Linked DNA regions of Homo sapiens: all the other regions are linked to region 2. The links are contacts of gene promoters, found by promoter capture Hi-C in human tissues and cell types (Jung and others, 2019). All regions are on one chromosome and are shown on one strand. Each heading gives the region's core, a stretch centred on a gene start or on the middle of the fragment in contact. The rest is flanking DNA. Distances are from core to core; before and after follow the strand shown.

What was found. The method cuts DNA at HindIII sites, captures the fragments that hold promoters and counts their contacts. A contact is called where the count stands out against the background at its distance.
Region 1: a contact is called between a fragment that was not itself captured here and the fragment with the promoter of NIPSNAP1 in region 2, in 3 of the 25 tissues and cell types used here (dorsolateral prefrontal cortex, mesenchymal stem cells and spleen).
Region 3: a fragment that was not itself captured here is called in contact with the fragment with the promoter of NIPSNAP1 in region 2 in 1 of the 25 tissues and cell types used here (bladder).
Region 4: the fragment with the promoter of SEC14L3 here is called in contact with the fragment with the promoter of NIPSNAP1 in region 2 in 4 of the 25 tissues and cell types used here (aorta, hippocampus, mesenchymal stem cells and 1 more).
Region 5: the fragment with the promoter of OSM here is called in contact with the fragment with the promoter of NIPSNAP1 in region 2 in 6 of the 25 tissues and cell types used here (IMR-90 fibroblasts, adrenal gland, dorsolateral prefrontal cortex and 3 more).

Annotation. Positions count from the first base shown.
Region 1 is chr22:30,123,220-30,128,086 of GRCh38, reverse strand. The region is part of intron 10 of HORMAD2 (HORMA domain containing 2); the gene reads right to left. Among named protein-coding and RNA genes, the nearest start is that of HORMAD2, 45 kb to the right of the region's middle. The HindIII fragment of the contact is 8,876 bases long and covers 1-4,867 here.
Region 2 is chr22:29,579,349-29,584,253 of GRCh38, reverse strand. It overlaps NIPSNAP1 (nipsnap homolog 1), which reads left to right and starts at 3,141. Exons shown (of 10, transcript NM_003634.4): 1 at 3,141-3,269. The coding sequence starts at 3,172. RefSeq lists a silencer at 3,335-3,384 and an enhancer at 3,368-3,980. The HindIII fragment of the contact is 21,243 bases long and covers 1-4,905 here.
Region 3 is chr22:30,158,069-30,163,189 of GRCh38, reverse strand. All of the region lies in intron 10 of HORMAD2 (HORMA domain containing 2), which reads right to left. Among named protein-coding and RNA genes, the nearest start is that of LIF-AS1, 79 kb to the left of the region's middle. The HindIII fragment of the contact is 4,795 bases long and covers 546-5,121 here.
Region 4 is chr22:30,469,215-30,473,957 of GRCh38, reverse strand. SEC14L3 (SEC14 like lipid binding 3) reads left to right here and starts at 1,941. Exons shown (of 12, transcript NM_174975.5): 1 at 1,941-2,053; 2 at 3,376-3,451; 3 at 3,703-3,746; 4 at 3,880-3,939. The coding sequence starts at 2,000. The HindIII fragment of the contact is 19,065 bases long and covers 1-4,743 here.
Region 5 is chr22:30,264,888-30,269,464 of GRCh38, reverse strand. OSM (oncostatin M) reads left to right here and starts at 2,614. Exons shown (of 3, transcript NM_020530.6): 1 at 2,614-2,699; 2 at 4,321-4,463. The coding sequence starts at 2,666. RefSeq lists enhancers at 3,211-3,310, 3,371-3,450. The HindIII fragment of the contact is 14,267 bases long and covers 1-4,577 here.

The DNA.
Region 1 (4,867 bases), core at 2,023-4,522, 540 kb before region 2:
AAATATTTGAGTGCCTCACTCTCTGGCACCCTGGAAGACAAACTGGAGAGGCAATGATGACATCAAAGAGACCCAGTTAGAAGACTCAACTATCACCAAGAAAGCAATGATGACATCCTGAATCAGCACAGTGGTAACAGCGCTAGATTTGAGAAATACTTCAAAGGCAAAACACATGGAAATGGTGTACCAAAAGAATGTAGAAAGTGAGGAGAAAATAACAGTTGAACATATTCCTGGTTGGGTTGCTTAGAAAAGTGATGGTGCAATACCAAGATAAGGAACCTAGGATGAGGAAGTGCATGTTTGGTCAGAAGTTAAAATTCCATTTGAAGATGTTGAATCTAAGGTACCTGTAGGATATTCATGTCTATACATTTATGGAAGTACAATTTGGAATCAGAAAGACAAACCAAACCAGAGAAATAGAAAAAGACAAAGATGTGCCAGGCGTGATGGCTCACGCCTATAATCCCAGCACTTGAGGAGGCCAAGGCCAGCAGATGGCTTGAACTCAGGAATTTGAGACCAGCCTGGGCAACATGAAGAAATCCTATCTCTAAAACAAATACAAAAATTAGGCTGGGCGTGGTGGTTCACACCTGTAATCCCAGCACTTTGGGAGGCCGAGGTGGGCGGATCACGAAGTCAGGAGTTCGAGACCAGCCTGACCAACATTATGAAACCCCATCTCTACTAAAAATACAAAAACTAGGTGGGTGTGGTGGCACATGCCTGTAATCCCAGCTACTCAGGAGGCTGAGGCAGGAGAATCGCTTGAATCAGGGAAGCAGAGGTTGCAGTGAGCTGAGATCGGGCCACTGCACTCCAGCCTGGGCGACAGAGCGAGACTCCGTCTCAAAAAAAAAAAAAAAAAAAAAAAAAAAGAACTTCTGTTTATAAAACACCTCATTAAGAAAACAACTCGTAAGGTTGAAGAAGATATTCACAATACATGTATCCAACAAAGTACTTATATGCAGAATATATATGCAGAGCTCCTACAAATCAGTAGGATTGAAAGACAATCCAAGAGAAAAAAAGGCAGGGTAGGAGCAAACAATTTGAACAGATACTTCACAAAAGAAAATATTCAACATGGCCAATAAACATATAAAAAGGTGCTCCTCTTCATTAGTTAAAATTAGTTTAATAAATTAAATTAAATAAATTAAAACAACAATGACATACCACAGCACACCCACCAGAATGGCTAAAATCTTAACGATGGAAAACGCCAAGGGTTAGTGAGGATGTAAAGCAACCACAACTCTCATACATTGCTGGTGGGATTGTAAATTGGCACAAATACTTTGGAAACTATTTTGCACTATCTGTTAAAACTAAATATACACATACCCTTTGACCCAGCAATTCTACTCCTAGTAATTCTATTCCCACCAGAAATGTGTAGTTATTTCCCTAAAAAACATGTTCCAGAATATTCAAAGCATTTCTATCCATCATAGACAAAAATTATAAATTATCCAAATTAACATTAGAATGAATAAATTGTCATTAACAATAGAATGAATAAATTGTCAGGATGGTCTACAACAACATGTAAAAATATGGGTAAATCTCACAACATAATGTTAACTGAAAAAATGGTCCATACTCGGCCCTGCGTGGTGGCTCACACCTGTAATCCCAGCACTTTGGCAGGCCGAGGCGGGCTGATCAAGAGGTCAGGAGATCAAGACCATCCTGGCTAACACGGTGAAACCCCATCTCTACCAAAAATACAAAAAATTAGGCGGTGTGGTGGCGGGCGCCTGTAGTCCCAGCTACTTGAGAGGCTGAGACAGGAGAATGGCGTGAACCCAGGAGGCGGAACTTGCAGTGAGCAAAGCAGAGATCGCACCACTGCACTCCAGCCTGGGAGACAGTGGGAGACTCCGTCTCAAAAAAAAAAAGTCCATACTCTATGATTCCATGTCTATAAAATAAAGAGGAGAAACTAATCTATGCGAATAGAAGTCAGGATAGCAATATTCTTGTGAGCAGAATAGTGACTGTAAAATAAGACTGGGGGTTTCTCAGGGTCTGGAAGAATTCTATTTCTTGATCTGAGTGCTGATTTCACATATTTATTCAGTAGGGTTGTGACAAAGACAAAGCAAGCAAGATGTCCAGGGGGCAAAATGTAAGGAGGTCCTTACTCTTGGCACCTGAGATCTTCCTTAAAATATGCTCCCTAGGCACCTTGCTTGCATCACCCTCATCCCAGCTCTAGTGTTCAGTTTGTGAATATTTATTGAGCTGTATCACTGATACATATGTTTTACTGTATGTTTATTATTCTTGAATTTAAAAGTGTTAAGAAAGTCTGGTCTATTTCACTCCATAAATGAAAATAAACTTTAAGTGGATTATAAACCTAAATGTAAAAAGAAAAGCATTAAAACTTTTAGAATAAAATATGAGAATATTATTAATGACCTTAGGTAGAGGATTTCTTAAGGATATCCAAAAGCACATATTAAAGGAAAAGATTAGACTATATTAAAATTAAAAACTTACATTGCTCAAAAGACCTCTTAAAGAAAGTGAAAGATGAGCCAGGCACAGTGGCTCATGCCTGTAATCCCAGCACTTTGGGAGGCTGAGGCGGACGGATCACCTGAGGTCGGGAGTTCAAGACCACCCTGACCAACATGGAGAAACCCTGTCTCTACTAAAAATACAAAATTAGCTGGGTGTGGTGGCACATGCCTGTAATCCCAGCTACTCAGGAGGCTGAGGCGGGAGAATCACTTGAACCCAGGAGAAAGAAGGTTACCGTGAGCTGAGATTGTGCCATTGCACTCAGGCCTGCTGGGCAACAAGAGGAAACTCTGTCTCAAAAAAAAAAAAAAAAAAAAAAAAAAGAAAAGAAAAAGAAAGTGAAAAGATGAGCCACAAACATGAAAAAAATATTGCAACATAAATGAGTGAAAAAGAATTATTACTAAGCACATATTTTTTAAACCATTGAGGAAAAGATAAATAACCTGAGAGACAAATGCATGAAAGACATGAACAGCTATTTAATATGAGCAAAATAGGATGGCCAAAGAAAAGATGCACAAACACACAAATAATCAGAGAAATTCAAATTAACATCATGAGGCATTACCATTTCATATCTAGCAGACTGGCAGGAAACATAAACCCTGACAATAAGTGTTGGCAAGAATGTAGGGTACTCTCCTTCACTGGGGGTAGCGAGTAAGTTGGTACGACCACTTTGGAAAACAGTTTTGCTTTACCTAATATAGTTGAAAATACACAAGCCTAGAACTGTTTCATATATTCCCAAGAGACACTCTTTGACAGGTGTACCAGGAGGTATGTACATGAATGTTTATAGCAATTAAAAAGAATGTCTATCAAGAGTAGAAAACTCTACAGCAGTGAAAATGAAAGAACAATAACACAATGGCTAAATCTCAACTTTGAAGTTCAAGCAAAAGAAAATTAAAGGAGAATACTCAGAGTATGATTACTTTGATATACAAATTTAAAACGAGTAGATGTACTCATCCATGGCAAAACTATAAAGAAGAGCAAGGAAAGGTTATCATGAAGGTCAGGAGAGTGGTTACCTTCAGAGGGCGTGCAATGAGGAAGGGACACGTGGTGGCTTCTAAGGGAGTAGCAATGTTCTACATCTTAGCCTAAATGGAGGACATATGGATGTTCTCATTATTCTTTAAACTGTACATATTTTTATGTAGTCTATTATATGTATATCTCAAAATAAAATTTTTAAAAGAAATAAAGATTCTACATATGTATACACATGTATGTATGTGTGTGTGTGTGTGTGTGTGTGTGTGTGTGTGTGTTCCATGTATTCCATGAAGGAAAACAAAAAGGAATCCTTAGTGGGAAAGTGACAGTAACCACTTTACTAGACTTACTAAATTCTCTCATATGTTTGGCTGGCTGAGAGAGAAACTTCAATCAACTAAGTTTACCACAAAGTCCATATAATACATATAGTTTCAACTAAATGTATGCTTGAGAAGGATTATCACATTTCTTATTTAATCTATTAGTTGAACTATGCGTTCTTAGGTTGTCCTGCTTTCATTTGATTAAAAAAAAAAAAGAAAGAAATTCTTAATTAAAAGGTAAAAATCTAACCAGGTGTGGTGTAATCCTAGCACTTTGAGAGGCCAAGGCAGGAGGATCACTGGAGCCCAGGAGTTCAAGATCAGCCTGGACAACATAGGGAGACCCTGTCTCTAAAAAAAATAAAAAATAAGCTGGGTGTGGTGGCGCACACCTATGGTTTCAGCTACACTGGAGGCTGAGCTGAAAGGATTACTTGGGCCCAGAAGGTCAAGGCTGCAGTGAGCTGTGATCAACTACTGCACTCCAGCACTCAAGCCTGGACAACAGAGCAAGACTCTTTCCCTAAATAAATAAATAAATAAATAAATAAATAAATAAATACCTAGCTGAGGCCCAGTGTGGTGTCTCATACCTGTAATCCCAGCACTTTGGGAGGTCAAAGTGAAAGGATTGCTTGAGCCCAGGAGTTTAAGACCAGCCCTGGTAACAGTGAGACCCTTGTCTCTACAAAAAATTAAAAAATAAAAAATTAGCCAGGTGTGGTGGCATGTGCCTATAGTCCCAGCTACTCGAGAGGCTGAGGTAGGAGGATTCCTTGGCAAGCTGAGGCACCAGTGAGTCATGGTTGCACCACTGTACTTCAGCCTGGGCAACAGAGCGAGACCCTGTCTCAAAAACAACAAGAACAACAACAAAAAAAACTAGCTGAAACATTCTTTTCTTAACCTTCATTTTTTTTCCCCTTTCTATGTTAGCTATATCTTCCTTGGGTGAAATTGGAAGAGGAAAATTGCACCAAAATCCA
Region 2 (4,905 bases), core at 1,892-4,391:
GGTGGTCACTTCCACCACTCCACAGTCAGTCTGCCACGCTGGGTTCCTAAGGAAAGAGCTGCTCCCACCACATGACACCATTTGCTGTGCTTCCATCAACCCACCTGGGTTTTTCCTGAGTGGCTTTGACTGGGGACTCTGCTAAGATCATACTGACTTTGATTTTTTTTTTTTTTTCGAGATGGAATCTCTATCACCCAGGCTGGAGTGCAGTGGCGCGATCTTGGCTCACTGCAACCTCTGCCTCCTGGGTTTAAGCCATGTTCCTGACTCAGTCTCCGGAGTAGCTGGGGTTACAGGTGTGCGTCACCATGCCATGCCTGGCTAATTTTTGTATTTTTATTTTTTATTTTATTTATTTGTTTGTTTTGTTGAGACGGAGTTTCGCTCTTGTTTCCCAGGCTGGAGTGCAATGGCGCGATCTTGGCTCACTAAAATCTCTGCCTCCTGGGTTCAAGTGATTCTCCTGCCTCAGCCTCCTGAGTAGCTGGGATTGCAGGCACATGCCACCACATCCGGCTAATTTTTATATTTTTAGTAGAGATGGGGTTTCATCATATTGATCAGGCTGGTCTCGAACCCCTGACCTCAGGTGATTCCCCTGCCTTGGCCTCCCAAACTGCTGGGATTACAGGCATGAGCCACTGCGCCCGGCCTAATTTTTGTATTTTTAGTAGAGATGGGGTTTCACCATGTTGGCCAGGCTGGTCTCGAACTCCTGACCTCAGGTGATCCACCCACCTTGGCTTCCCAAAGTGCTGGATTTACTGGCATGAGCCACCGCACCCAGCCTGATTTATTTATTTAATTAAAAAATCATAACTCACTACAGCCTGGACCTCCTACCTCAAGTGATTTTCCTGCCTCAGCCTCCTGAGTAGCTGGGACTACAGGTGTGTGCTACCATGCTCAGCTAATTTTTTGAATTTTCATAGATCCTCCTGCCTTGGCCTCCCAAAGTGCTGGGATTACAGGCATGAGCCACCACACGTGGTCCTAATCTTAAAATTATTATTATTTTTTTATAGAGACTGGGTCTTGCTCTGTTGCCCAGGCTGGAGCGCAGTGGTGCAATCATGGCCTGGCCTCCACTCCCCCCATGCCAAGCATAACAGGAGGCAACCACTAGTCAGTGGGTGGACATTCTTTTGGGGAGCTGTCCCTGCCCCTTTGGAAGTGGATAGAGCCCCTGCCCCCTGTGGGGTCTGCAGGCTCTCCACCCCTGCCAATGTCTGTGATCTGGGGGATTGTGGGCTGAGAAGGGATTAGTTTAGAGGGCGGGCAAAAGAGCTGGGCAGGGCAGAAAGAGGCCCCAGGATTTTCAGGCAGAGAAGTCAAAGGGGGATGAAAAGGGGAAAGGAGATGGTGGAGATAAAGTGTCTGCAGCTGACAGCCTTGCCCCTGTCTTCACTTGTAAGGAAGTTTGTTTCTTTGATGGTGATAAACCTGGCATGTGAATGCCTTTCCCCAGAGAATGCACCACAGAGGAGCACGTAACGTTGTATACAATTTCAGGGGGCTTACTGATGCAACCCCTTTGCAGAAATTTTAACAGTGAGAAAATTATGACAGTGAAAGTGATCTGACCTAACCGACTCCATTTTGCTTCTAACCCCCAAACTGTCCATATTCATTCCTGGGCATAGGCCAAACTTACAGTCTTTTTGTTTGTTTTTTGAGACGGAGTTTCGCTCTTGTTGCCCAGGCTGGAGTGCAGTGGCGCGATCTCGGCTCACTGCAACCTCTGCCTCCAGGGTTCAAGAGATTCTCCTGCCTCAGCCTCCCGAGTAACTGGGATTACAGGTGCCCGCCACCATGCCTGGCTAATTTTTTTGTATTTTTAGTAGAGACGGGGTTTCACCCTGTTGGCCAGGCTGGTCTTGAACTCTTGACCTAAACTTCTGATCCACCTTTGCCTCCCAAAATGCTGGGATTACAGGCATGAGCCACCATGCCCGGCAGCAAATTTATAGTTCAACTTTGAAACAAAGATAACAGCCCTCTCCCAAAATAAACCCCTTTCTTGCCTGGGGACCAGACTGCTTTTGTAAGACTAACAAATTAGCCACGAGATTAGAAATTACGGTTTAGGAGTCATGCAGGTAGTGGCCACAGATTCTAAACCTCCCCAGTTGCTCCTAGGGATAACATCACTACTGTAAAACCTAAGATTGGTGCTCAAGATATTTTTCCGATCCTGCACTCAATGGATCCGCTGGCGATACACAGATTAAGAAACCGGATCATCCGGTTTTGTGGCCCCCACCCAGAGATCCACTCAGCACAAGAGGACGGCTTCCACTCCCTATGATTGCATCTCCGACCTGACCAATCAGCACTCTCCACTCTCTGGCCCCTACCCACCAAATTATCCTTAATAAAACCCAGTCTCCGAATTTTCAGGGAGACTGATTTGAGTAATAATAAAACTCCGGTCTCCCATTCAGCCGGCTCTGCATGAATTAAACTCTTATTGCAATTCCTCTGTCTTGATAAATCCGCTGTCTGGGAAACGGGCAAAATGAACCCATGGGGTGGTTACACTGACCCTCTGCTGCACATCCCGGACAGCCTTGTTAAGAACCCTTGGTAGGCTGGGCATGGTGGCTCACGCCTGTAATCCCAGCACTTTGGGAGCACGAGGCAGGCAGATCACGAGGTCAGGAGATCGAGACCATCCTGGCTAACACGGTGAAACCCCGTTTCTACTAAAAATACAAAAAATTAGCTGGGCGTGGTGGCAGACGCCTGTAGTTCCAGCTACTCGGGAGGCTGAGGCAGGAGAATGGCGTGAACCCAGGAGGCGGAGCTTGCAGTGGGCCGAGATCGCGCCACTGCGCTCCAGCCTGGGCGACAGAGCGAGACTCCGTCTCAAAAAAAAAAAAAAAAAAAAAAAGAACCCTTGGTATTATTGTTCCACGCTCCCATTTTACCGAGGTGGATCCTGAGGCCCAGAGTGGGCAAAGGGCTTGCCAAGGTCGCAGAGCGCGCAGAGGATTAGAACCCTGACTTCCGTCCAGCACCTGCGGAGTTGGAGACGCCCACAGGAAACGCCCACCTGACCGGGTGAGTGAGGGGGCGGGCGAGCCGGAGGGGTGGAGTTTATTCGCGCCCCGCCTCCGCCACCAGGGCTTGGGGGCGGGGCCTTCCTGCAACCTTTGCGGCTCCAACATGGCTCCGCGGCTGTGCAGCATCTCTGTGACGGCGCGGCGGCTGCTGGGGGGCCCGGGGCCTCGCGCTGGGGACGTTGCGTCTGCAGCTGCGGCGCGGTGAGAGCCCGGCCAGGCAGGGATAGACGCGCGCGGGGTGGGGTGCAGGCGCGGGGGCCAGGGACTGGGTCGTGGGGGAGGGGCTGAGACTCCTCGCTTGGAATCTGGGGGTTAGAGGCGGGGCAGGATCAAGGCCTAGGGAGGGGTCTGGGCAAAGAATGGGGGAGGTGAGAAAGGGATGGGTAGGGTCTTTGTCCTGGTTGGGACCGGGCTGTGATGGGGACCTGATGAAAGATGGTGAGAAGGGCAGGTACTGGGCCCTGGAGAGTGGGAGAGGGCAGAAGACAGGAGGAGTGGCCCATTCCCAGGCGTAGCTTGTGATTTAACACCCACTGGGGGCTTCTGGTAGTCAGCTCCTCCGTCGGGAAGTTCTGTGGGAAAGAGATGATGGCAGGGGAGCAGTGGGGGATCCCCAGGGGCCATGGCTGCACAGACCCTTTGTTCCTCCACCTCGAACTGTACAGGTGGGGAAACGGACCTGAGAGGGAATGGGAGTTGTCCAAGGTCACCCTCCCTGCTGTGCCGTGGCAGCACCAGGTCTGGGACCCAGGCCTGCCAATGCGCCATGCACTTTGCACCCAACTGGTGGCCTCCTGGGAGTGGGAGTCTGGCTGGGCCATGTGCTCTCAGCCTGGGCTTTTGTTTGGGCCCTGCTCTGGGCTGAGCTAGGGCTTGGCCTCCCTGACTGGCCCTGGGCAGCCCCTCACTCCTTGGTCCCCACAGCCCTGTACTTCCCCCATCTCTGCATATATGACCCTGCACAGTTATGACTTGGTGCTTGTCTGTCTCTCTCACTAGACCATGATCTCATTTTTCTCTGTTTCCCCAGCCTCCCACCCTCAGAGGGCTCAGGACTGTGTATGGTCAAGGAATATTTACCAAAGAAGTGAGGCCACCTGTTCCCCCTCCCCCAACCTGTGAAAAGGAAGCAACCATCCCTCCTGCCCTGCAGCCCAGGAATGAAGCTGCAAAGTTCTGATAGTGCCTGCCATGAGATGTTACAGCACAGAGCAGTGGGGCTTTTGGACAGCTGGGAAAGAGGAGTGGCATAAGCGCCCCACCTAGACTGCCCAATAATTAGGGATAAAGCTGACACCGTGGGAAAAGCCTAGAGTTTGCCTGGCACTAACAGATCTAACTCAGACTTTGTAGGTGGGGTGACCTCAGGACTCTTTAAGCCTCGGGTTCCTCATCTGTAAAATGGGAGTAATCAGGATGTATCTCATAGGGTTGTTGAGGATTAAAGATGCTGTGGTTGGTCGGGTATGGTGGCTCATGCCTGTAATCCCAGCACTTTGGGAGGCCGAGGCAGGCAGATCACTTGAGGTCAGCAGTTCAAGACCAGCTTGGCAACACGGCGAGATCCTGTCTCTATAAAAAGTACAAAAATGGCCGGGCGCGGTGGCTCACGCCTGTAATCCCAGCACTTTGGGAGGCCGAGGCGGTGGATCACGAGGTCAGGAGATCGAGACCATCCTGGCTAACACGGTGAAACCCCATCTCTACTAAAAATACAAAAAATTAGCTGGGCGCGGTGGCAGGCGCCTGTAGTCCCAGCTACTCAGGAGGCTGAGGCAGGAGAATGGCGTGAACCCAGGAGGCGGAGCTTGCAGTGAGCCGAGATCCTGCCACTGCA
Region 3 (5,121 bases), core at 1,694-4,193, 580 kb before region 2:
AATATAAAAAACTTGAAATAAACCTAGAACACTTTAATACTAAGGATTACTATGCCACAGTTAAAAAGAATGAGGTTCATTTAAGTATACTAATAGGGAAAAATCTGTAAGACGTATGTTAAGTGAAAAAAGTAAGTTTAAAAAAAGGACAATATTATTGCATTTGTGATTTTAAGATGTCCACAAATCGCCAGGCGTGGTGGCTCACGCCTGTAATCCCAACACTTTGGGAGGCTGAGGCGGGTGGATCACTTGAGGTCAGGAGTTCAAGACCAGCCTGGCCAACAAGGTAAAACCCTGTCTCTACAAAAATACCAAAATTAGCCAGGCATGATGGTGGGTGCCTGTAATCCCAGCTACTCTAGAGGCTGAGGCAGGAGAATTGCTTGAACCTGGGAGGCAGAGGTTGCAGTGAGCCGAGATTGCGCCACTGCACTCCAGCCTGGGCGACAGAGCAAGACTCTGTCTCAAAAAAAAAAAAAAAAAAAGATGTCCACAAATCAAATGTTTGCATGTATATACCTATATACAGTACTGCCTAATAGAAATAGAATGCAAGACACAATTACACACCAAATAATTTTAAATTTGAACCATATTTTAAAAAGTAAGAAGAAACGATGAAATTAAAATTTAACATTTAATTTAACCCAATATATTAAAAACTATCATTTTAATATGTGAATATTAAAATGATGGAGATATTTTACGTTCTTTTTTTGTAGTACGTCCTCACAATCCAGCGTATATTTTATACCTACATTTCAATTCAAACTAGCCACATTTCAAGTACTCAATAGCCACATGTGGCTAGTGGCTGCTGTATTAAACAACATATCGTGTGTGTGTGTGTGTGTGTGTGTGTGTGTGTATTTTGAGACGGGGTCTCACTCTGTCACCTAGGCTGGGGTGCAGTGGTGCCATCCATGGCTTACTGCAACCTTGACCTCCCCATCTCAGGTAATCCTCCCACCTCAGCCTCCTGAGTACCTGGGACTACAGGCACACATCACCACGCCCAGCTAATTTTTGTATTTTTGGTAGAGACGGGTTTTCACCATGTTGCCCACGCTGGTCTCAAACTGCTGGGCTAAAGTTATCGGCCCACCCCAGCCTCCCAAAGTGCTGGGACTACAGATGTGAGCCACCATGCCCACCCTGTGTGTGTATTTTAAATGCAAAGGAAAAGGCATGGAATATCCTTATTGGCAGTTTTTGAACTATCTATGAGAATGTATTCATGTGTAAATTGTATTAAATATAATTAAACTTAAAAATATGAAGTTTCATATCAGTGTGTTTATTGTTTAAATTGTGTTTTCTATTACTTGACACGGTTATAATAATCAACATTTTTATTACTTTAATCTCTTTTATCCCCTTTATTTCAAAGTGATAAAAAATGTTAGTGTAAAAATCTTTTTATTTGCAATCTTGCTTTATTTGCAAAGGTAAAAAAGAACATTTAAAAAAATAATGTTTATTAGGCTTTTAAAAATTATAAAATATTCTAAAATATTATTAAATACTTTTCAATAGAAAAATGTCAGTTACTTTCTTACTTTCAAATGCCTGAGTAAATAATTATGAATTCCGTGGTAGTTAAAGGTGGATACATTAAATACATAAACACGCTCAAGCACATACTTGAAGTAATTATAAAAATGAAAAAGTTGTTTCTTGGTTTGTGGCATGAATAGAGGAAATTTACAGGCAATGACATGATGGTGTCATTAGATGTACTAAAGTTTGACATACATTTGCTGATTCTTCAAAAAAGAGATGAACAGATAATAGATACAGAATTGGAAATGCAATACCCTGCTTCTCACAGACTTGCTATGTAGGTCATTTGCTTGAACATGAGCCTCTATAAGTGCTTTAGCAGGTGTTGAGAGGAACATAGCATAACTGTAAGTACAGAAATGACTATAGAGATAGGTCCTATAAAATATCAGAAAAAGACCACTTTGGTATGAAAATTGTCTAAGATGGAAGATCTCTATTGGTGCAATATCTAAACCTCAGGTCATAACTGCCTACTCTTGCTGGCAGGAAGGAGAGACCAAAGTAGATAACACTTAGGAACTCTGGCCTCCCCAGTAAAGTTCCTCCACACAAGGCAGAGGCAGAGTTGCAAGATACAGTCACTAAGAAGTCAGATTTTCACTTTAAATTGGCCCTAAATTCAATTGAAGAGAAATAGAAAACCCCTAAAGTGAAGTAGTTGAGTGTTCAGAGTGAGGATAAGTTTTATATAAGGAGCATGCACCTAAACTTAATTTTCATATTATTTATGCAGGAAATGATGAAACATTTTCAAAATTTCTAACACAAAATGAGAATAATCATACCTCTCCTCTTCCTGATCTAGCTTTGAAAAAATATATTCAAACACTTTGTTGTAATTAACAGAATTTTCTACAGCATCAATTTAGTTCAACTATAGTTATTTAATTGCTTCCATTTTTGTTAGTTTTATGTATCTATTTCAATAGCTAATACATTTACATAATATGCAATTCAAAAGGTAATATAAAGGTATATAGTGAAACTTTCCCTGCTATCCCAGAACCATTCAAGTCCCCTTCTAAAAGACAATCACTGTTACTAGTTTCTTTTACATCCTTGCAAAAACCATCTGTACTGTTGTCATTTCAAAATCAACTGCATCACTAAAAACTTAAAACTGGAATAAAATTCATGATATCACCCTCTTCAAGTTGTTTTATTAAATCTGGGCCAGGCCTGGCCACAGTAAGAGTAAATGAGGAAATGGAGGGTTGTGACCAAGTAACAGAACTAACTGCAGGGCCACTCTTGGTCTTTTACGGAGGTGAGCTTTCTTCCCATTCCTCCAGTTATTCTCCCCATCTAGAGAATACATATTTTCCTCCTGACTAAAGAAAATGAAAGAAAACCAAAGAATGGAAAGGTAAAAGAGGAGGGTCAGACAAGCAGAAGATTCAAGGCACCATGCTAAGTGCTATGGTGGTGATAAGGGCAGGGCACAGTGGCAGCAGGACAGCAGGGATGGGCAGTAGAGTTCAAGGTAGTAAGGAACACAGATATGTAAACAACAAACTCTAACTAACATCCAACACAGGTAGGATGAAGTCAGGGCTAAATAAAGGTACAAGCAGTAGGCTGTAAGAATGTGGATGGAAAAGAAGAATGGAGAGAGGGACTTCATGTCAGCTGGCTGAGCATGTCTGACAAGCTTCTTTTCAGAGTGCACACATTTTCCCTGACTCATGAAAACTTAGAGCTGGGAGAATGCCAGAGCAGTGTGCTGAAGCTCAGTCAGTAAGGAAGTCTTTTGGAAACAACATGGAGAGGAAAAAACTAAGGACCTTGCATATACACAAAAAAATAGGAAAAATAATAAAAGCCCTCCTGCAGCTCACAACTGGTCTTCAGTAGTGAATCAGAAAAAAAAAATGAGCATTTTCAAAAGCTTTACTATTTACTTAAAATCAGGGCTGCCAGGCGTTGCTCAACCCCAGGGGTGTCATTCACATTTCTGTCTGTGTTTTAGGTATCCCTGGAATTATGCAGTACACAATCAGCACAGTCATGCATGGCAACCCTGATAGGGCAAACATTCGATTTTTGACTAACACTTTTTAAATTTCCCTATCACTAAGTTTTTACCTGAAATACAGGGTATCCCTTTTGGCTAATATTTCCTATGAAAGATAAACCAAACATTTGGAATATACAAATATGTTTTCTTAAAAACTCAAGGTTGTTGAGTATAAACTGCAGCAAATCTATTACAGAATATGGCTAGATTATATACCTAAAGCATGACATAATATACATATTTTCCAACCTATAAAGATTTTCCGTGATGTGGTAGGGCTTCTCAGTTTCAAATTAAGCACTATTTACTTAGAAATGTAGGGCTAGTTCGAATCTAGCTGGGCCAGAGAGCAGAGTGAAACAGTATTATGGCAGGGCATATGGTACATTTTTATTCTGAGGGCTTTCAAAATTCAATGATTAAGAGTTGAAACTCTCCGCCTTATTTTAGGAGAACTTTTCTAATTTTTCCGCATTGTCTCTCATTTCACTGGCATCATTCTAATTCAGTGAAGCTACAGATGTCCACCAATTTGAAAAACATGACAGTAGTTCATATAAAAGAATTTTAAAATGAGATGTGAAATTGATTTTTTGTGACTAAAGTTTTACCACTACAGGGGCAGGCGCAGTGGCTCATGCCTGTAATACCAGAACTTTTGGAGGCCGAGGTGTGCAGATTGCTTGAGCTCAGGAGTTTGAGATCAACCTGGGCAACATGGTGAAACCCCATCTCTACCAAAAATACAAAAATCAGCCAAGAGCGGTGGCGTGCGCTTGTGGTTCCAGCTCCTTGGAAGCCTGGGGTGGGAGGATCGCGGGAGCCCAGGAAGTCAAAGCTGCAGTGAGCTGTGGATCATGTCACTGCATTCCAGCCTGGGTGACAGAGCAAGACCCTGGAAAGAAAGAAAGAAAGAGAAAGAGAGAAGGGGAGGGGGAAAGAGATAGAGAGAGACAGGAAGGGAGGAAGGGAGGAAGGGAGGGAGGGAGGGACGGAGGGAGGGAGGGAAGGAAGGAAGGAGAAGGGGAAGGGGAAGGGAGGGGAGGGGAGGGAGGAAGGAAGGAAGGAAAAGGAAAAGGAGAGAAAGAAAAAGAAAGAAGGAAAGAAAGAAAAGAAAAAAGAAAAGAAAAGAAAGAAAGAAAGGAAAGAAAGAGTGAGCAAGCTATACCACTACAGTTCATAATTCCTGGTTTTAATAATCCTGATTAGGAAGGGTCTAACCAAGTGAAATCAAGAAATATTTGTCATCCTTAGATATGGCTGTGTTTTATTCTCTTCCTTATGCTTTGTATAGTTGTTGATTATGTAGGAACCAAACTTTTAAGTTTTGTTTTTGTTTTTTTTTTACTTTGTGGATATGAAGCTAACTCCTGGTGATTTTTAGAAGTTACCCACATTTTCCTCTTTTGTGGAAATATTTACACTGGGGATTTCCACTGAGAGAATTGAGGGAGCTCTTTTATTTTTATTTTTATTGGATATAACAACTGAGGCCATATTTCTATTAATGCCTCTTTTTTTTTCTTTGCCCTACT
Region 4 (4,743 bases), core at 692-3,191, 890 kb before region 2:
TGAGGTAATGCATGTAATGAGACCCCATCTCTACAAAAAATATAAGAAATTAGCAGGGCGTGGTGGAATGTGCCTGCAGTCCAGGCTACTCCGGGGGGTTGAGGTGGGGAGGATTGATTGAGCCTGGGGAGGTCGAGGCTGTAGTGAGCCGAGATCATGCCACTGCACTCCAGCCTGGGCAACAGAGTGAGACCCTGTCTCAAAAATAAAATAAAATAAAGTAGAATAAAATAAAAATGGGCCACCTGCACCATCCAATATGGTAACCACTAGCCAGATTGAACAATTTAAAGTAAAATGTATCAAAATCCAATTCAATTAAAACTTCAGTTCCTCAGTCACGCTAACCATCTTTCACATGTAACTAGTGGCTACCAGATATGTCTAACAGGACACCCCAGACAGAAGATGTCTACCATCACAGGAAGTTCTGTGGAGTGGCACTGTAGCTGATGAGGATTTGTGAACATAGCAAGGTACTTGACAAATCTGTGGTCTGGGTCAGGAAAAGAGCTCAGTGTGAAGGCTCACAACTCCTGAGGAGACCCCCAACCCTCCCTCCTGGCTCTCCTTCACAGTCTCCGATGCCCCTAGAAGTAACTAGCACACCTCACATTATAGGGATTAGGGTGAGAAAGGAGACTGGTGAGAAATGGGCAGGATTAGTGGCTCGGGAAAGGGCAGTGGAGGAACCCAATCTCTGTACATTACTGGCCTGGCAGGAAGTGGGTGTAGACAGCAGCTGGGGCTTTGCAGAAATTGAGGCTGGAATGTGAAATGGGGCAGGGCTGGGGTGTGGAGAGTTACCTAACTGTTCCTGAGTACATGCCACGGGCTCCCCAGGCAGAGGGAAATGGCCAGCATTAGCCCTGCCTTCTCCTTCTGGATCCAACTCTGTGAGGAGCCCAGAGCAAGGAAGATGTCCCTGAGAAGATGTCTGATACTGACCAACATCTACTAGCCTAAAGAGACCCTGGGTTAGCCCAGAATAGAGGCCCACTGTAGCTCAGGGGTGGGTACCCAGGATGCCCCAGGAGTAGGGGACCTAGAAAAGCCCTAGGCAGAATGGTGTGGGCTAGCCCAGCTGCTGGGGCCGAGGCTAGCCCGGGGTTGGTTTCAGCCCATGCAGACCCCCTCAAGGCTGAGATGTGGCCATGTGGCCATGTGGCCATGCTGCAGCCTCAAGCTGATGGTTTCTTCAGAGAGAGTCATGGATAACAGGGTCTCTCCCTTCCTGGAGCTGAAGCTTACAGCTCCAGGGGGGACCAGGAGAGCTGAAGGAGAGTATCCCTCAGATGCACACAACCCTTGACAGTCCCTATGTCTCATTAGATCTTCCCTCTAACCACATAAGGAGGGGAAGGCAAACATTAACGGCCCCATTTTATAAATGAAGCAAGTGACGTTCAAAAGATGCCATCTGTCCTCTTCTTGACTGTGGACACAAAAGAAGGACCTGGGCCTCCCACCCCCAACAAAGTGAATGAACTGTTTACTACACTGACCAAGCCTCAGAATCCTACCCTTTCAGAGCTGGGTAGAGGGGGGTGATCTTTGCAGAATCCTAAGTGTGGGAAGACTGGGGCTCAGGGAGAAAGGGTACCCACAAGGAGCGGTCCTCATTCTCCTGAAACTCCCCCTTCTCCAGGGCAGTGGTCACTGGAGGCCTGGGAGGGTCAGCGGGTTCTACAGGCACTCACTCTGGGCTCCAAGGTCACGGGAGGCCAGCCTCCCTTCCTCCCAGCTGCCTCCTCCTGGCAGGGGACCTCTGGCACACGCTCCATGCCCGCCTGCCCCTCCAGATCTGTCCCCAAGCCAAGCAGGGGACCTCACTTAATCCCAATTATGTAATCTGCAATTTAAACAGTTGGCCCATGAGGAGGCGCTTGGAGCCACGCCCAGGAGTGGGGGCAAAAGGACCCAGCTGGGTCAGGGCTGACAAACTAGGCTTGGCCTCTTGCCTATAGTGGCCACCACTCCTCAAGCCCCAGCCAGCACCATGAGCGGCCGAGTTGGAGACCTGAGCCCCAAACAGGCAGAGACCCTGGCCAAGGTGAGAGCCCCTCCCCCTGGAGTTCCGGAAGACCAGGGGAAAGGGGCTGGGGGGTGGAAAGAAGTGGCTGGAATCCTGCCCCACTCAGTTGATTCAGCATGTCCTTGACATTGTCTCTTTGGTGTTACCTCCCAAAGGGTCAAGCCCCACGGTGCCCAGTAACATCAACCCTGTCCCGGGCGGGGGTTGAGGGACTAGCACCACTTCCAGGCAATAACGTGGGTGGTGCCCACCCAAGTCAAGCCTGACTTCTTCTCATCCAGGAGCCAGAACCAGAGAGGTTTACCTGGCAGCCAGGTACCCCCGTTCCTCCCTCCCAGGCACCATAGGTAGGAGCTGAAAGATGCTGCTGGTCTGCCCTTTAACCCCTTCCTCTTTGGGATCCTGAAAGATGACCAGTCTGTAAAAGCCCAAGAGACAGAGCAGAAAGTGTTGTCTTTCAAAGAGCTAAAGGAAGAAGAGGACATATAATTATTAACCATGTTTTAATAGAAGATGGGATGAAAAAAAGCAGATGTTTTGAGGGCTAACACATGGAGGGAACTAAGAATGCATCCAAACTCCAATCCACTTATTCATCCACCCAATTATTTATCCTTTCTTCTTCTTTTTCTTCTTTTTTTTGAGATGGAGTCTCTGTCATCCAGGCTGGAGTGCTGTGGAGCGATCTCAGCTCACTGCAGCCTCTGTCTCCCAGGTTCAAGCAATTCTCCTGCCTCAGCCTCCTGAGTAGCTGGGATTACAGGCATGTGCCACCACACCTGGCTAATTTTTGTATTTTTAGTAGAGATGAGTTTTCACCATGTTGGCCAGGCTGGTCTCAAACTCCTGACCTCAGGTGATCCACCAACCTCAGCCTCCTAAAGTGCTGGGATGACAGGCGTGAGCCACCATACCTGGCTGTTTATCCTTTCTTTCATCCACCCATCCCTCTTCCTACCCACGCAGCCACCTATCCATCTTTCTTTCTCTCAATCACCCACCCATCTCTCCTCTGTCCATTCACTGATTTATCCACCCACCCACTCTCCATCCATCCATCTATCCATTCATCCATTGATTTCTTCTCCCTTTTTCCATCTACCTACCCACTCACCCATCTATTCTTCTTTCTAACCATTTATTCATCCATCTATCCTCCTTCCATTCATCCACCTATCCAGTGATCCATCTGCCCTTCTATTCAACCATTAACCCATCCTTTCATCAATGTGGGCCATTTTGCATGTGGGAGGAAAGGAGAGGTTGTGAAAACAGTCTTTGAGTCTGGAGGCCAAGGCTCAATGTGAGAGAGCCACTTTAACCAGCATCTCTCTTGCCAGTTCCGAGAAAACGTCCAGGATGTGCTTCCTGCCCTGCCCAACCCTGATGATTATTTCCTTCTACGCTGGCTCCGAGGTGAGGGCAGAGGTGGGAGAGGTTGGGATCAGGGGGCATCAAGAGGGGCCTGGTCTCAACTGCTCCAGAGTGTCTCATGGCTCTCAGGGTCCATCCACACAATCTTGCTTCACATGTTCAGGTCCAGAGGAGGGAAGGGGGTAGGGGAGCAAGGTCTCACCCAGGCCCCCAGTGTCCTCCATAGCTCCCACTGGCCAGGAGTAAGACAAGGCATCTTTCCTGTCTCACACCTTCCTTCTGTTTTCCCACAGCTCGGAATTTTGACTTGCAGAAGTCGGAGGCTTTGCTCCGCAAGGTGAGACCTATCCACTCTGGAAATTTATGGAGGGGATTTGTCAGGGGCAATCCATGCCTCAAGCCCCTCCTTCCATCCCTGTTCTCAGGGCACTGGGAGCCCAGTGGGATCTTACCACTCATTTCCCTTTCAGTACATGGAGTTCCGGAAGACCATGGATATTGACCATATCCTTGATTGGCAGCCCCCAGAGGTGAGCCAACACCGCCAAACACCTCAGTCTTTCACGGACGTACCACTCAAGGTCACTGGGGACCATGAATGAGGGGCAGCAAGCCTGAGAGGCCTGTGGAACCCGCAGGCCTGCAGTCTCCTTTCCTACAGTCATAATGAATGTTTCCTGGGGGCTTGCAAGGTCCAGGCCTAGGTTAAGATGTTAGCAGCATGAGCTTCTTTAATCATCACAATGATGGATGCTATTGTCCCCATTTTGTGGATGAGGACACTGAAGCCCAGCAAAAATTAGGTAACTTGCCCACAGTCCCATAGCCCAAGGTAGGGCTGGGATTTATGCTCAGGCCTGTTTGGGCCCCCAAACCCAGGCTCGTAACCACCACGGTTAGCCTGTGCTTCTGCACCCCTGCCCCCTAAGGCATTGCCTAAAGCATCCTGTCTGGGTGGGAAAGAAGTTTAGCCCATCAAGGCACTGATGAGGACAGTGCCACCACTGGCATCTTAGTAGAGTAATGGTCACGTCTTCACTTGTAGGGCATGTACCCGGATCTGGGCACTCTGCTTTGCCAACTTTATCTCAGGGACTTTCCCCAACAGTCCCAAGAGTGAGGGGTTATCCAAACCATTTTACAAAAAAAGTAGGTAGAATGGAGCTCAGAGAGGTGGTGTCACTTGCTCAAGGACACACAGTACAGAAGCAGCAGTATCTGCTTTTTTTTTTTTTTTTTGGATGGGGTCTCACTCTGTTGCCAAGGCTGGTGTGCAGTGTCATGATCATGGCTCACTGCAGCCTTGAACTCCTGGGCTCAAGTGATTCTCCCAC
Region 5 (4,577 bases), core at 1,365-3,864, 690 kb before region 2:
CATGATAATGGCTCACTGCAGCCTCAACCTTCGGGGCTCGAGCGATCCTCCTGCCTCAACCTCCCTAGTAGCTGGGACTTCAGGTATGCACTACGATGTCTGGATAATTTATTTTTACATTTTCTGTAAAGACACAGTCTCGAAGTCCTGGGCTCAAATGACCCTCCTGCCTCGGCCTCCCAAAGTGCTGGGATTACAGGCGTGAGCCACCATGCCTGGCCAAATGCCCCTCTCCTCTTAACTATTCATAGGTGACCTCAGACAAAGCAACCTCCTCTCTCTGCCATGAGGAGACAGCACGGCCTCCCTGGACCACAGGATAGATAGAATAAGATAAAGGCATGTGGCTGTTTCTCACCAAGCGTGGTGGTCGGTCAGCCACAGCTGAAAATGGCCTAGACCCCTCTGCTCAGATCTGGCGCTCCTTCCTTGAGCCAGCCCCTAAACTTCCCAGAGCTTCGAGCTCCTCACTGAAGTGAGCTGAGGTGTCACTGCCCAGCGGCTTCTCTCCCCTGGCTGTTGCAGGATGAGATCGGTGGCTGGGTGCTGTGGCTCACGCTTGCAATCCCAGCACTTTGGGAGGCCAAGGCAGGAGGATCATTTGAACCCAGGAGTTTGTTATCAGCCTGGGCAACATAGTGACACCCCGTCTCTACAAAAAATAAAAAAATTAGCTGGGCATAGTGATGCATGCCTGTGGTCTCAGCTACTCAGGAGACTAAGGCGGGGAGCCTTGCTTCAGCTTAGGAGCTGGAGGCCACAGTGAGCTACCTACAATGGCGCCACTGCACTCCAGCCTGGGTGACAGAGCAAGATCCTGCATTTAAAAAAAGAGAAAAAAAGACGAGATCAGGGATGTGAAATGGAGAAGGATCCCCTCTTGGCATGGCCCCAGGAAACAGCATTGTGGGGGTGGGCACAGAGATGAGGACTTCAGCGGAAGCGACATTCTCAGGATGAGAATCCAGAACTGGCCCCTGGGGGTGGTGAGGGGGAGGTATGAGGCCTGGTGTGGTGAGTCCCAGCCTGGGTGCCGGGGAGTGGGTAGGGGCTGAAGAGCAGCCTCCTGGGCGTGGGGTCGCCTATTTTTGCCTACTACGTGATCCTCAGACCTGGGAGTGGCTGGTGCAGCATGGAGCCAAATAAAGGTTTGTCGAATGAATAAATGAGTGATGGGGAGAATGGGTGGCAACTGCCTTGGTGGCCACAGTGGGCATCGGGAGCAGGCATGGACAGGGGTGCATCCAACCTCCTCCTTTCTGGCTGCCCCAGCTCTCCTTGCTCAGGCGCCCCAGACCCCATGCTCCCTCCAGCTGGAGCAGCTCAGGCCTCCCTGGCAGCCTCCAGGAGTCCCACCCTGACTCCCCAGACTCCTGAGGGCCTCCTCCCACCCGGGCTTCTTAGGGTGCAGGCCAAGGACCCTCCTCTGGGCCTGGGAGATGTGCTGACCAGGCAGGGTCTATAGGCCTGGGCCAGCCTCTTGGCCTCCCTGTCTGCCTTCACCCAGGCCTCAGTTTACCCCACAGTAAAGTAGCAGTTTGACTAGGGAGGCGCTGTTCCCAGGGCCCTTTCGCAGAGGACCAACCTAAGATCGCTATCTTTCAGAGAAAGTGAAACCTGGTCCCCAACTGTCAAGGCGGCAACTCCCCCTCCCCGGCTTCCCCTCTGAGCTCACAGCTTCCCCATCTCCTCCTTCCCCCATCCCGCCCCCTCGACAGCTAATACTTGGAATCAGACCTTCATCTTTGCTTTTTCCTTCAGAGGTCTTTTCCTTTTATGTCCATGCTGGCAGCAACCCTGTGAGGTGGGCTGGGAAAGGCTTTTCTCCTCCTCATTTTATAGTTGTGGGTCTCTGAGGCCCAGAGAGGTTAAGTGACTTGCCTCAGGTCACACAGCACCTCAGCAGGCTTGAACCCTGGCCTCCTGTTTCTCTTGCTCCAAGTGTCCAGTTCTCCCCAGTGGAGCCTGCCTACAAAGACAAGGCCTGGCTTTGGGGAGTGGGCCTGGCAGAGGGTGCACGATGGGGGAAAGGAGACCGTCGGGAGCCGGGCTGGGGGATGCTGGTCCTGGGGCCTGAACCACAATCTCGGGGCTGCCAGCCTGCGTCTGGCTCTGTGCCCAGAGCCCGGTGGTTTCCGCTCACAGATGTCCCAACAGCCCCGGCGAGAGGGCAGGAAGGGCACTCAAGAAGGAAGATGTCTCGCTCCCCTCAGCCCCCAACCACCGTGTCCTGTGAGGCCAATGGCTCCTGGGCCAAGACTGGCCTGGGGCCTCCAGAGGCCCAGCTCGAAGTCCCTCCTGCCCATCCCTGGCCCAGTTCCCTGAAGATGGCATGGACCCTTTTCCTCCCCACTCACCCTAGGAAGGCTGAGGCTGCGGTTTTACATCATCCTTGGGCGTAGGGCTGACCTCGAAGAACGAATTCGAAGAAAACAGGAGGAGGAGCGGGCATACACCGCGCCCTGCGCCCATTGGCCGCCCGTGGAAATTTTGGTTTTTGGGGTCATGTTCCCAGAAGGCCTGCCCTCCCCCCTCCCCATCCCCACCCACCTCATGAGGTGTTGGCCAATCGCCCCAGCGGGCATAAAGTGGCTGCCAGCCTGCAGGGCTCCCAGCCGAGAGGTGTCACCCCCAGCGGGCGCGGGCCGGAGCACGGGCACCCAGCATGGGGGTACTGCTCACACAGAGGACGCTGCTCAGTAAGTACTTCCTTCCTCCCCGCCAGAACCCGCCTGCTGGGTCTGCCCACGGGTGCCGGTGGGGAGCAGAGGCACCCTCTGCCCTCCGGGAACTGGGGAGGCCAGGCGCCAGGCAGAAGGATGCTGAGAAGGGGAGAGAGCCAGGAGGTCAGGCAGAGAGAGTGGTCCACTGAGAACCTGGCATCTCCACAGGTAGAGAAGGGGCATCCCTGGAAGGCTTCCAGGGGGAGGTGATGTCAAGATGTAGAGGCAACTCTGGGAACCAGGGGGTGAGAGAATAGGATGGGCAAAGAGGCTGGGCAGGAGAGGGAGGCTCAGAAGCTGGGCAGGGAAGTGGTGTGAGGTGTGGAGGGGTTGTGGGGCCTCCAGCTTGCCCGGGATGAATAGAAAGTCAGCCAGGCCTGGGGGCCCCAGGGCCCACACAATCACACAGCATGCACAGCCACACCCACATGGCCACATGCGCACACAGCCATATGACGTCATCTACAGCCCTGGATCTCACCAGCCCAGGAACCCCCACATGCAGACCAGAGTCCCCATGGTGAACGGAACAGGTCTCCCTCACGCCGCACACAGACCCAGATGCACAGCCACACAGAAACCCCAGTCCCACGTGCGCTGCCACAGGCACAGGCCCCTGCCAGAGCCCGGCAGCAGATACCTGGGGAGGCGGCGAGGGTGCCGTGGGGTCGCTAAGCCTGGGTGCCTGGCCCCTTGGCCCTCCCCAACAGCCAGTCTTCCCCAAAGGGCCGGATGGTTCTTAGGACGGGAACGATGGTGTCACTGCCTTCCGGGCCATTGCGCCATAGGCCCCTTCCGACCACGTGGCTGCCGGTGCCCCGTTGGGGGTGGTGGTGAGCGGTAACTGTACCCGCCCCCAACACCTTCTGACAGGCTCACAGCATCCCTGGTGGGCCTGACAGAAGGAGCCACTTATGGAGAGAGGAGGGAGGCAAGAGAGGTCAGGGGAGAGCCCTGGCCTTGTGTGACCTGAGTAGGACCTTCTCCTGAGACTTGGTTTACCTGTCAGGAAAGTGGGGACATGGACTGGAAGGTCTTCCACATCTGTTCCAGGCTGCACCTCTGGTTGAAAAGGCAGCCTCTCCTGGTTCTAGACAGAGCTGAGGACACAAGCTGCTCCCGGGCTGCCTGCCCTGAAGCCCTCTCAGGCCCATCTACCTGGATGGCCAGAGCAGCTGACAAGGCAGGTCCTAGGGCAGTGGCCGGTCTTTAGCCCAGTGGTCTTGCAGGGAGCCAGTCCCACCTTGCAGAGAGTCAGCTCCCGAGGTTAGAACCGTGCTGTAGGCAGGACTGGGATCCGGCCAGGCACTGCAGCCTTTGCTCAAAGACCTACTTGGTAAATCGCAGCCACTGTCTCAGTCCCTCCCACTGCTTGCTGTGTCAGGCCCTGGGCAGTGACTTACTGGGGAGATGATGGTGGCCTTGGTGGGCACACCTGGGCACACACCGTGCCACACAGTGCCCAGCCCCCGCCCTCCACTACACAAAGTCTGGGATGAAGGAGGCACCTTTCAAGGCCCTCTTGAACCCCCTCCCCGAGGCTCCCATCTGTGGCTTTCCTCACCAAGTCAGGTGACACCCCTCTTCTCTGCCTTAGGTCTGGTCCTTGCACTCCTGTTTCCAAGCATGGCGAGCATGGCGGCTATAGGCAGCTGCTCGAAAGAGTACCGCGTGCTCCTTGGCCAGCTCCAGAAGCAGACAGATCTCATGCAGGACACCAGCAGACTCCTGGACCCCTATGTAAGCACCTGGGCCCTTGTGGCATCTGAGTCTCAGAGAACTATGGGGTTAGGAAGGGAGTGAGAAGCAGGGAGGACAGGCCTAGCCCCACTCCATATGGCCAGGTCGGGGAAC